Regions from separate parts of the Homo sapiens genome. Here regions 1 and 2 are each linked to region 3. Evidence: promoter capture Hi-C in human tissues and cell types (Jung and others, 2019). All regions are on one chromosome and are shown on one strand. Each heading gives the region's core, a stretch centred on a gene start or on the middle of the fragment in contact. The rest is flanking DNA. Distances are from core to core; before and after follow the strand shown.

Evidence for each region. The method cuts DNA at HindIII sites, captures the fragments that hold promoters and counts their contacts. A contact is called where the count stands out against the background at its distance.
Region 1: a fragment that was not itself captured here is called in contact with the fragment with the promoter of TIMM22 in region 3 in 3 of the 25 tissues and cell types used here (IMR-90 fibroblasts, dorsolateral prefrontal cortex and thymus).
Region 2: a contact is called between a fragment that was not itself captured here and the fragment with the promoter of TIMM22 in region 3, in 3 of the 25 tissues and cell types used here (bladder, dorsolateral prefrontal cortex and spleen).

What each region holds. Positions count from the first base shown.
Region 1 is chr17:1,140,000-1,143,521 of GRCh38, forward strand. The region is part of intron 1 of ABR (ABR activator of RhoGEF and GTPase); the gene reads right to left. Among named protein-coding and RNA genes, the nearest start is that of ABR, 38 kb to the right of the region's middle. The HindIII fragment of the contact is 6,228 bases long and covers 1-3,522 here.
Region 2 is chr17:1,193,103-1,196,430 of GRCh38, forward strand. It overlaps a transcript of ABR not described here. Among named protein-coding and RNA genes, the nearest start is that of ABR-AS1, 13 kb to the left of the region's middle. The HindIII fragment of the contact is 6,525 bases long and covers 1-3,328 here.
Region 3 is chr17:995,243-998,744 of GRCh38, forward strand. It overlaps TIMM22 (translocase of inner mitochondrial membrane 22), which reads left to right and starts at 1,887. Exons shown (of 4, transcript NM_013337.4): 1 at 1,887-2,138. The coding sequence starts at 1,901. RefSeq lists an enhancer at 1,909-2,600. The HindIII fragment of the contact is 16,003 bases long and covers 1-3,502 here.

The sequences.
Region 1 (3,522 bases), core at 549-3,048, 140 kb after region 3:
TGGAACACTATCCTGAATAGTCAGATTTCACGCACGCTGGGAGCCACGGATGCCAAAATGGCAAGGTGATTTCAGAGGTGACTTCAGGAAAACGAAGCTGACTGTGGTGCATGAGATGATGTGGAACGGGGCAAACCGCCCCTCCGTGCTTTGTCAAAGGTGACCATGGTGGGAACCAAGGGCAAAGTCTGGCGATGGGAGAGTTGACTGAAAATGCGGCCACAGCAGGGTCCTCTGGGCTTGGAGGGCTGAGCGATGGACAGGAAGGGGGAGCTGGTTCCGGGGGAACAGACCCTAAGTCCAGGTGGAGACATGTCTGGACTGAGAAGACTCATGGCCATCCCTGTCAGAAGATCCAACGGGCAGCCAGACAGCAGAGTCTGGACCACAGGTGTGGATCTGGGAGGCCGGCAACCCTGAACCAGGGAACTGGCCAGCGGAAGCGAGGCTGCCACTTCCCAGGTGCCACCTGTACCAGATCAGCCTGTCCGGGGCAATTTCAGCAGGGATGGTGGCTCAGATACAAAATCTACCACCTCACCTACAACAATAAGGACACTGTCTTCTACTGCACTTTATTTTATTGATTTATTTATTTTTGGAGACGAAGTCTCAATCTGTCACCCAGGCTGGAGTGCAGTGGTGGGATCTCAGCTCACTGCAACCTCCGCCTCCCAGGTTCAAGCAATTCTCCTGTCTCAGCCTCCCAAGTAGCTGGGATCACAGGCACCCGCCACCATGCCCGGCTAATTTTTGTATTTTTAGTAGAGATGGGGTTTCACCATGTTGGCCAGGCTGGTCTCGAACTCCTGACCTCAAGTGATCCGCCCACCTCGGCTTCCCAAAGTGCTGAGATGACAAGTGTGAGCCACCGCGCCCGGCCAGTCTTCTATTGCACTGGGAGGCAGAGGTTGCAGTGAGCTGAGATCGCACCACAGCACTCCAGCCTGGGTGACAGAGTGAGACTGTCTCAAAGAAACAAGATGAGGATAACGATACCATGTCACAGGGTGGTTGTGAAAATGACATTAAATAACATGATGTAGGTTAAAGAACTGGGCACAGTATCAGGGCAGAAGGGTCCTTGGGAAAGCTCAGCTGAAGCCGAGTGGGTGTCGTAGGCAACGGGAAAGTAGACACCTTCAGGGTCCAGGTGACCCCAGCTGATCCAGGAGATATTTAATACCATCGGGAGCCCCTCAGTCAGGGCCTGGCTCCAAGGGGAGGAATCCTGGAAACCAGCATCTTTCCCACGGGACAAGCCACCTCCTTCTCAGGGCCCCCCATTCTTTGATTGATGGAGCAGAGGTTGGGGAGCCAGGACAGCTCAGTGGTCAAGGGCAGAGGCTTTGGAATCACACTCGGGTTCCATTCCTGAGATTAGCACTTCGGGAATGTGACCTTAGCCATGTGACCTTGGGCAAGCTACTTAGCCATTCAGAGCCTCAGTTTTCTCATCTCTAAAATGAGGATAAAAACAAGATCTATACCTCATGAAGCTTTTGCGAGGTTACAATGAGGAAATATATGCTATGCAAGGCACCCAAAGCTGGCGCTAACAAAACGGCAGCTATTATCATTATTCCCCTGCTCTCCTTCCTGAGTACCAAGAACCCTTAGGGACCTCCCAGCCCTTAAAAAACAAACCAGGGCTTTGGCAATTTGCAGTGAGTTAAGACTACAGCAAGCTTTGTCAGCTAACTCTGCTGTTCATCAGTCAGCCTCCATTCAGCACAGGCTGGTGGACTAGTTACGACTTAAATTCTTTTTTTTTTTGGAGACAGAGTCTTGCTCTGTCTCCCACGCTAGAGTACAATGGCACAATCTTGGCTCACTGCAACCTCCACCTCCCCGGTTCAAGCAATTCTCCTGCCTCAGTCTCCTGAGTAGCTGGGATTACAGGTGCCCGCCACCACGCCCGGATAATTTTGTATTTTTAGTAGAGGTAGGGTTTCACCATGTTAGCCAGGATGGTCTCAAACTCCTGACCTCAGGTGATCCACCTGCCTCGGCCTCCCAAAGTGCTGGGATTACAGGTGTGAGCCACTGCGCCCGGCCAGTTCATGACTTGAATCCTAAGATAACTGTTCCAATCTTCACTGCACACTGGAATCCCTGGGGAGTTGGGAAGCTCTCTGGCTCCTACCCCAGGGATTGCTACTGAATTGGTATGGAATGGCCTGGGCATCAGGCCTGTTAAAAGCTCCCCAGGTGACTCTAATGTATAGGAAGGCCAAGAGCCGCCAGGTTCAGACAGGGACACTGAAGTGAGCGTCTTTACAACCAAATGGAACTAAGACTCTTGCTGGGCACAGTGGCTCACGCCTGTCATCCCAGCACTTTGGGAGGCCGAGGCAGGCGGATCACCTGAAGTCGAGAGTTCGAGACCAGCCTGGCCAACATAGAGAAACCCCGTCTCTACTAAAAATATAAAAATTAGCCGGGTATGGTGACAGATGTCTGTAATCCCAGCTACTCGGGGGGCTGAGGCAGGAGAATCGCTTGAACCCGGGAGGCGGATGTTGCAGTGAGCTGAGATCACACCATTGCACTCCAGCCTGGGCGATAAGAGCGAAACTCCATCTCAAAAAAAAAAAAAAAATACTCTGAAGCAGCCTATGAAGCCATCAGCCAGGCGCGTGATCAATTCAGCCAGCACAGGGAAGGCTGCCCGGAAGAGGCAGGGCTTGTCCTCAGTCTTGGGGACTGTGGGATTCGCTGGGGAAGAGAAGACAAGACGGACGGAAAGGGCTTTGCTCTGATTGTGAACCACAGACAGGCAGGGGTGGGTGGGGGTCGGCCCCTGTCTCATTCACTCAGGACCCTCGGCCTGGCCTGTAGCAGCCACTGGGAGCACAGACAGCGCCACCCTCACCCCGAGGCCTGGAGCCCCTCATTAGCCCAGCAAAGCGGCAACTGGAGGCCGGGCAGAGGCTGTGGGGCAGCTCACTCCTGGGAGGAAGCTCACTCCTGGGGGACAGCTCGCTCCTGGGGGACAGCTCATTCCTGGGGACAGCTCGCTCCTGGGGGACAGCTCATTCCTGGGGGGCAGCTCGCTCCTGGGGGGCAGCTCGCTCCTGGGGGACAGCTCATTCCTGGGGGACAGCTCGCTCCTGGGGGGCAGCTCGCTCCTGGGGGACAGCTCATTCCTGGGGGACAGCTCGCTCCTGGGGGGCAGCTCGCTCCTGGGGGACAGCTCATTCCTGGGGGACAGCTCGCTCCTGGGGGGCAGCTCGCTCCTGGGGGACAGCTCATTCCTGGGGGACAGCTCGCTCCTGGGGGACAGCTCGCTCCTGGGGGGCAGCTCGCTCCTGGGGGACAGCTCATTCCTGGGGGACAGCTCACTCCTGGGGGGCAGCTCGCTCCTGGGGGACAGCTCATTCCTGGGGGACAGCTCGCTCCTGGGGGGCAGCTCGCTCCTGGGGGACAGCTCATTCCTGGGGGACAGCTCGCTCCTGGGGGGCAGCTCATTCCTGGGGGGCAGCTCGCTCCTGGGGGGCAGCTCGCTCCTGGGGGACAGCT
Region 2 (3,328 bases), core at 788-3,287, 200 kb after region 3:
AGCGAAGAGCTAGAATGGATGACTGTGGAGAAGGTTCTTTTGGGAACTGGGGGCGAATATAGAAACTGCTACTAATCTAACGTGTGGCCTCAGCATGAATTCAGGAAAACAACAGAATTAGCAGCTTTTCTTAGATCCACCTTATAGAGAAGCCTTTCTGGGACACCCCCTCCCCCTCAATACCCACAAGGATTCAGGACTCCCCCGCTCTCCCGGCGAGTTTGCTGAACGCCCTTCGGCCGACGTGTCCCGAGCATCGCCAGTATTTACGTTCTAGGCACCCTGTTAAGCACGTAACCTTCACTCTTCGCAAGCAGCCTCTCTATGTGGAAGCCACAGTCACCACGCCCGCTTTACAGAAGAGGCTCAAGTTCACACTGCTAGTGAGTGACAGAGCCAAGTTCTCACTCGGGTCTGGCTCGGTCCAGAGCAATTGTACCTGGCCACCAGTCCTGAAGCTTCAGGAAAGCATCCTGACCAGATGCCGCCCGACATTCACTCAGGAAGAGCTCGGTTTCCAGCACGCCAGGGAGTACTGGCAACTGACGCTAATTCAAGCACATCAGTGCAGCCCTTTTTGTTTGTGTGTTTTTATGTTTGAGATAGAGTCTCCCTCTGTCCCCCAGGCTGGAGTGTGGAGTGCAGTGGCACAATCTCGGCTCACTGCATCCTCCGCCTCCCAGGTTGAAGCGATTCACCTGCCTCAGCCTCCTGAATAACTGGGACTACAGGCACCCGCCACCACGCCCAGCTAATTTTTTTTTTGTATTTTTAATAGAGACGGGGTTTCACCGTGTTAGCCAGGATGGTTTTGATCTCCTGACCTCGTGATCTGCCCACCTTGGCCTCTCAAAGTGCTGGGATAACAGGCGTGAGCCCCGCGCCTGGCCACTGCAGCTCTTAAAGCTTACTCTCCAGGGGAAGTGGCAGAGGAAGGAAGACACAAAGATGAATTTCCATCCTCTTTCTCCTCTACTGAAATCTGACAAGCTCCTGGGTCTTTTGATTTCTCCTTGAACATGAGGTTTGTACCTGGAGGATCTCTGGTGGCAAGGGTGTTTCCTTTGTTTTTTTTTATTTATTTATATTTTGATTGATTGATTGAGACAGAGTCTCTCTCTGTCGCCCAGGCTGGAGTGCAATGGCACGATCTTGGCTCACTGCAACCTCCGCCTCCCGGGTTCAAGTAATTCTCTTGCCTCAGCCTCCCAAGTAGCTAAGATTACAGGTACACGCCACCACGCCCAGCTATTTTTTTGTTTTGTTTTGTATTTTTAGTAGAGAGGGGTTTCACCATGTTGGCCATGCTGGTCTCAACTCCTGACCTCAGGTGATCTGCCTGCCTCGTCTTCCCAAAGTGCTGGGATTACAGGTGTGAGACACTTCGCCCAGCCTTCTTTATTTTTTAGAGACAAGTCTCACTCTATCGCCCAGACTGGAGTGTAGTGGTGCAATCATAGCTCACTACAGTCTCGACCTCCCAGGCTCAAGCCATCCCCCTGCCTCAACTTCTTGCATAGCTAGGACTACAGGCATGCACCACCACACCCAGCTAATTTTTTTTTTTTTAAGATGGAGTCTCGCTCTGTTGCCCAGGCTGGAGTGCAGTGGTGCGGTCTCAGCTCACTGCAACCTCCACCTCCCGGGTTCAAGCAATCCTCCTGCCTCAGCCCCCCTAGTAGCTGGGATTACAGGCATGTGCCACCATGCCCTAAAAATTTTGTATTTTTAGTAGAGACAGGGTTTCGCCATGTTGGCCAGACTGGTCTCGAACTCCTGACTCAGGTGATTCACCCACCTCGGCCTCCTAAAGTGCTGGAATTACAGGTGTGAGCCACCGCGCCCGACCCTAATTTTTTTTTTAATTTTGTACAGACAGAACCTCACTATGTTGCCCAGGCTGCTCTTGAAGTCCTGGCCTCAGGCCAGGCGCGGTGGCTCACGCCTGTAATCCCAGCACTTTGGGAGGCCGAGGCGGGCGGATCACGAGGTCAGGAGATCGAGACCATCCTGGCTAACACGGTGAAACCCCGTCTCTACTAAAAATACAAAAAATTAGCCGGGCGCAGTGGCGGGCGCCTGTAGTCCCAGCTACTCGGGAGGCTGAGGCAGGAGAATGGCGTGAACCCGGAAGGCGGAGCTTGCAGTGAGCGGAGATCGCGCCACAGCACTCCAGCCTGGGCGACAGAATGAGACTGTCTCAAAAAAAAAAAAAAGTCCTGGCCTCAAAGGATCCTCCCACCTTGGCCTCTCCAAGTGCTGGGATTACAGGCGTGAGCCATCAGGCCCGGCCCTTAAGGGTGTTTTCTACTGCTACAGTGATTAACTAGTCTCTGGTGTATCTCTCTCCCAAAGGCAGCCCCCAGCCCTGCCTGACCCAGGCTCAGCAAGTAGCGTAAGGAGCATTTTAAAGAAAATTATTGGCTGGGCAGTGGCTCACGCCTGTCATCCCAGCACTGTGGGAGGCCGAGGCGGGTGGATCACGAGGTCAGGAGATCGAGACCATCCTGGCTAACACGGTGAAACCCCGTCTCTACTAAAAATACAACAAATTAGCCGGGCGTGGTGGTGGGCGCCTGTAGTCCCAGCTACACAGGAGGCTGAGGCAGGAGAATGGTGTGAACCCGGGAGGCAAAGGTTGCAGTGAGCCGAGATCGTGTCACTGCACTCCAGCCTGCGCAACAGAGCGAGACTCTGTCTCAAAAAAAAAAAATTATTGGCCGGCGCGGTGGCTCACGCCTGTAATCCCAGAACTTTGGGAAGGCAAGTTGGGATTGTGGGGAGAGATCACTTGAGGTCAGGGATCACTTGAGGTCAGGAGTGCGAGACGAGCCTGGGCAACATGGCAAAACCCCATCTCTACTAAAAATACAAAAATTAGCCAGGCATGGTAGCAGGTGCCTGTAATCCCAGGTACTCAGGTGGCTGAGGCACGAGGATCGCTTGAACCAAGAAGGAGAAGGTTGCAGTGAGCCGAGATCACGACACTGCACTCCAGCCTGAGCAACAGAGCGAGATTCTGTCTCAAAAAAAAAAAAAAAAATAGGCAAGGTGCGGTGGCTCACGCCTATAATCCCGGCACTTTGGGAGGCCGAGGCAGGCGGATCACCTGAGGTCAGGAGTTCAAGACCAGCCTGGCCAACATGGCGAAACCCTCTTTCTACTACAAATACAAAAATTAGCTGGGCATGGTGGCACGTGCCTGTAATCCCAGCTACTCGGGAGGCTGAGGCAGGAGAATCACTTGAACCCAGGAGGTGGAGGTCACAGTGAGCTGACATCACACCACTGCACTCCAGCCTGGGTGACAAGAGTGAAAACTCTGGCC
Region 3 (3,502 bases), core at 637-3,136:
ATGCCCAGAGGTGTTCCCAGGCCACGTTTTGTTCATACGAGGAGTACAAAATGATGCCAAAGTGTTAGCATTCTTGGGACTGAAAACCTCTCTCCAACATCCCCTAGGATTTTCCTGGATATGACCAGAAATCCATTCCCAATTTCTCTGCCTCCAGGCCCCAATTCTGGTTTCCTCAAAGAGGAGGAAGTGTTCTTGGTTCCCAAAATATGCTTGCAGTGCAGTGGTATAATGGTAAATGTTTAACAACAATAACAAAAAGGCCCTAACTGGCCGGGCGCAGTGACTCACGCCTGGAATCCAAGCACTTTGGGAGGCCGAGGTGGGTGGGTCACCTGAGGTCAGGAGTTTGAGACCAGCCTGGCCAACATGGTGAAACCTTGTCTCTACTAAAAATACAAAAATTAGCCGGGCATGGTGGCATGTGCCTGTAATCCCAGCTAGTCGGGAGGCTGAGGCAGGAGAATCGCTCAAACCCGGGAGGTGCAGGTTGCAGTGAGCGGAGATTGCACCACTGCACTCCAACCTGGGTGACAGAGCAAGACTCTGTCTCAAAAGAGTAATTTTAAAAAGTAAGGCAACAAATTATCAGGAGTTTTTGAGCTGGTTGTTAAGCACAGTTATTATTAAAAATTACATTCTATACATTTATAATAAATTACACTAAAAATAGGTAATATGTGCTCAAAACTCATCCCCTCCTAAAAATTTTACTACACTGTACTCCTATCTATGCTGTTGAGGTTATTTCCATAGATTGTATCTGTGTGATAGAAACACCATGTAACCACATGCTGCTGTACGTCTTCCCAATTCTGACTGATGACCTCGCTTGGTAGTTTGAAATCAGCCATGATGGGGATATTAACACCACACAAGTCAGCAAATGCTGTCAGTTAGGATTTTTTTTTTTTTTTTTTTTTTTTTGAGACGGAGTCTTGCTCTTGTCGCCCAGGCTGGAGTGCGATGGTGCGATCTTGGCTCACTGCAACCTCCACCTCCCGGGTTTAAGAGATTCTCCTGTCTCAGCCTCCCGAGTAACTGAGATTACAGGCGCCTGCCGCCACCTGGCTAATTTTTATATTTTTAGTAGAGACGGGGTTTCCTGCTTCAGCCTCCTAAGTAGCTGAGAATACAGGCGTGCACCACCATGCCCAGCTAATTTTTTTATTTTTTATTTTTTTAATTTTTAGTAGAGATGGGGTTTCACCATGTTTGTCAGACTGGTCTCGAACTCCTGACCTCGTGATCCACCGGCCTCGGCCTCCCACAGTGCTGGATGACAGGCGTGAGCCCCCGCGCCCGGTCCGTGCATTTACAGCACAAGTTCACGCTTATCTACAAAGCATCCACCTCTCACCGCACCTTCCGGGACCACGGGATTTAACGCCTCACCGCCCGATGACAGCACGAGGTGGAAAGGGCAGCGACAATGCTCGCGCGTCCCCTCCCGGCGATCCGGAGCACGGCAGCCCCGGAGCGCGCGGCCACTCCTCGCTCCCCTCAGGAGCTCGTAAGAGCCCCGCGCGGGGCCGAGGCGCGAGAGCACGCGCAACGCTTCCTGGGAAATGTAGTTGGGTGTCGGATTAGAACTACAAATCCCGGTACTCACCGCGCTGCAGCCCCGACCGTGAGGGCGCTTTCTGGTGAATCTGAATCTCGTTTGTCTGTGACATGGGGAAAGCTGTCCAAGCCCAATTCCATTTTCACAAGAGGCTTTCTTTTTGGAAACATGATAGCGGTCTCGCTGGTGTGCGCACCAGGAGCGTTGCGGCCGCGGCTTCCTCCTGCGGCGAATCTGCCGTTGCATCACAGTGGCTAGTCTCAGGGCCCGCAACGTGACGCTTGTCGAATCTGCTGCGGGGAGAAGGACGCGAGGGTTGCTTGGGCAGCGACTGTCATGGCGGCGGCCGCCCCCAATGCCGGAGGCTCGGCCCCTGAGACAGCGGGTTCCGCCGAAGCTCCGCTGCAGTACAGCCTGCTCCTGCAGTACCTGGTGGGTGACAAGCGTCAGCCCCGGCTCCTGGAGCCTGGGAGCCTGGGCGGGATCCCAAGTCCAGCCAAGAGTGAGGAGCAGAAGATGATCGAGAAGGCGATGGAAAGCTGCGCTTTCAAGGCTGCGCTGGCCTGCGTGGGAGGTGAGGCCGGGCGATGGGACCCTTGGGAGGCTGAGGGCCTGGACGGCAGTGGGGATCTCTGCCGAGAAGACCACGCGCCTGGGAGGCGAGGGACTGCGGGCCTTGACCTTGACCACACCCTCGCCTCGTTCGTGAATCGGGCGTCACCTCTCCTGCCCCCTCAGGCCGGCTTTCCTGATGAAAATTGGGTTAGAGAATCGGTGCTGTGGTTGGGGCCTGAAAGTTATTACATGACATCCTGGCTAACACGGTGAAACCCCGTCTCTACTAAAAATACAAAAAATTAGCTGGACGTGGTGGTGGGCGCCTGTAGTCCCAGCTATTCGGGAGGTTGAGGCAGGAGAATCGCTTGAACCCAGGAGGCGGAGCTTGCAGTGAGCCGAGATGTGCCACTGCTCTCCAGCCTGGGCGACAGAGCGAGACTCCGTCTCAAAAACAACAACAAAAAGTTATTACGTGGGTGACTTCATTCATCCGTTCATTCCCTTAAATTCATTCTCTTAAATAATTCTTTCAACAAATTGTTCCTAAGCAATATCACGTGCCAGGTGAAAGAGACAAGAGCCTGGTCTTCATGGGGCCTGTATTATACTATGTGGAGAAGAATGTTGAGCAGGAACACTGCAGAGGAAGGATGCAGACATATGGAAATGCACATGCAGACGACTCTAGGGCAGCAGTTGTTTGAGGTTTGAAAAACTGAAAGACCATTGTGACTAGACAGCCCCGAGCAAGGAGAGACGAAGTCTGCACTTGTCCTTCTGTTTTTCCCTTAAGTTGAAGGGGAGGTGCCCATGATTTTATTAAACTCATATTGACCATGAGGTCATGAGAGGGCATCCATCTGGACATGTCCAGCCGGCTCAGGAAGGACAGATGTGGCAGCAGTGTGGGATTTGCCATTAGGTAGCTGTGTGGCCTTGGGAGAAGTTGCTTAACCTCTCTGAGCCTCAGTTTATAGAAAGGAGAGGCTAATAGCATCTGTCTCACTGGATTATTGTGAAGAATGAATGAGGCTGTGGCATACTGGCATGTGCTCAGTAAAGCATTACTGTGAATGTCACAGTGGCCAAGAGAGTGATTTGCAAAGTTGATAGCTGAAGTTGAGGGTGGCTGGTTTACATATGAGAGAATGTAGAGAGAATAGAGGGTTAAAGATGGAATCTTGAGAAATGTTAGGGAATGACAGGAGGAAGAAATCTTAGAGACGGAGAAGATGATGTCAGTAACATAGACCCTGGATTGCAAGTCTCCAGGCAAGTGGAGAGTTTGAGTGGCAAGAGGGGGGTGTCCTCTGCACCGGTGGTCATCCAAAAGCATGGTCCCTTCCAGGATGATCCCAATAGAGTAATGCAGAAAACATG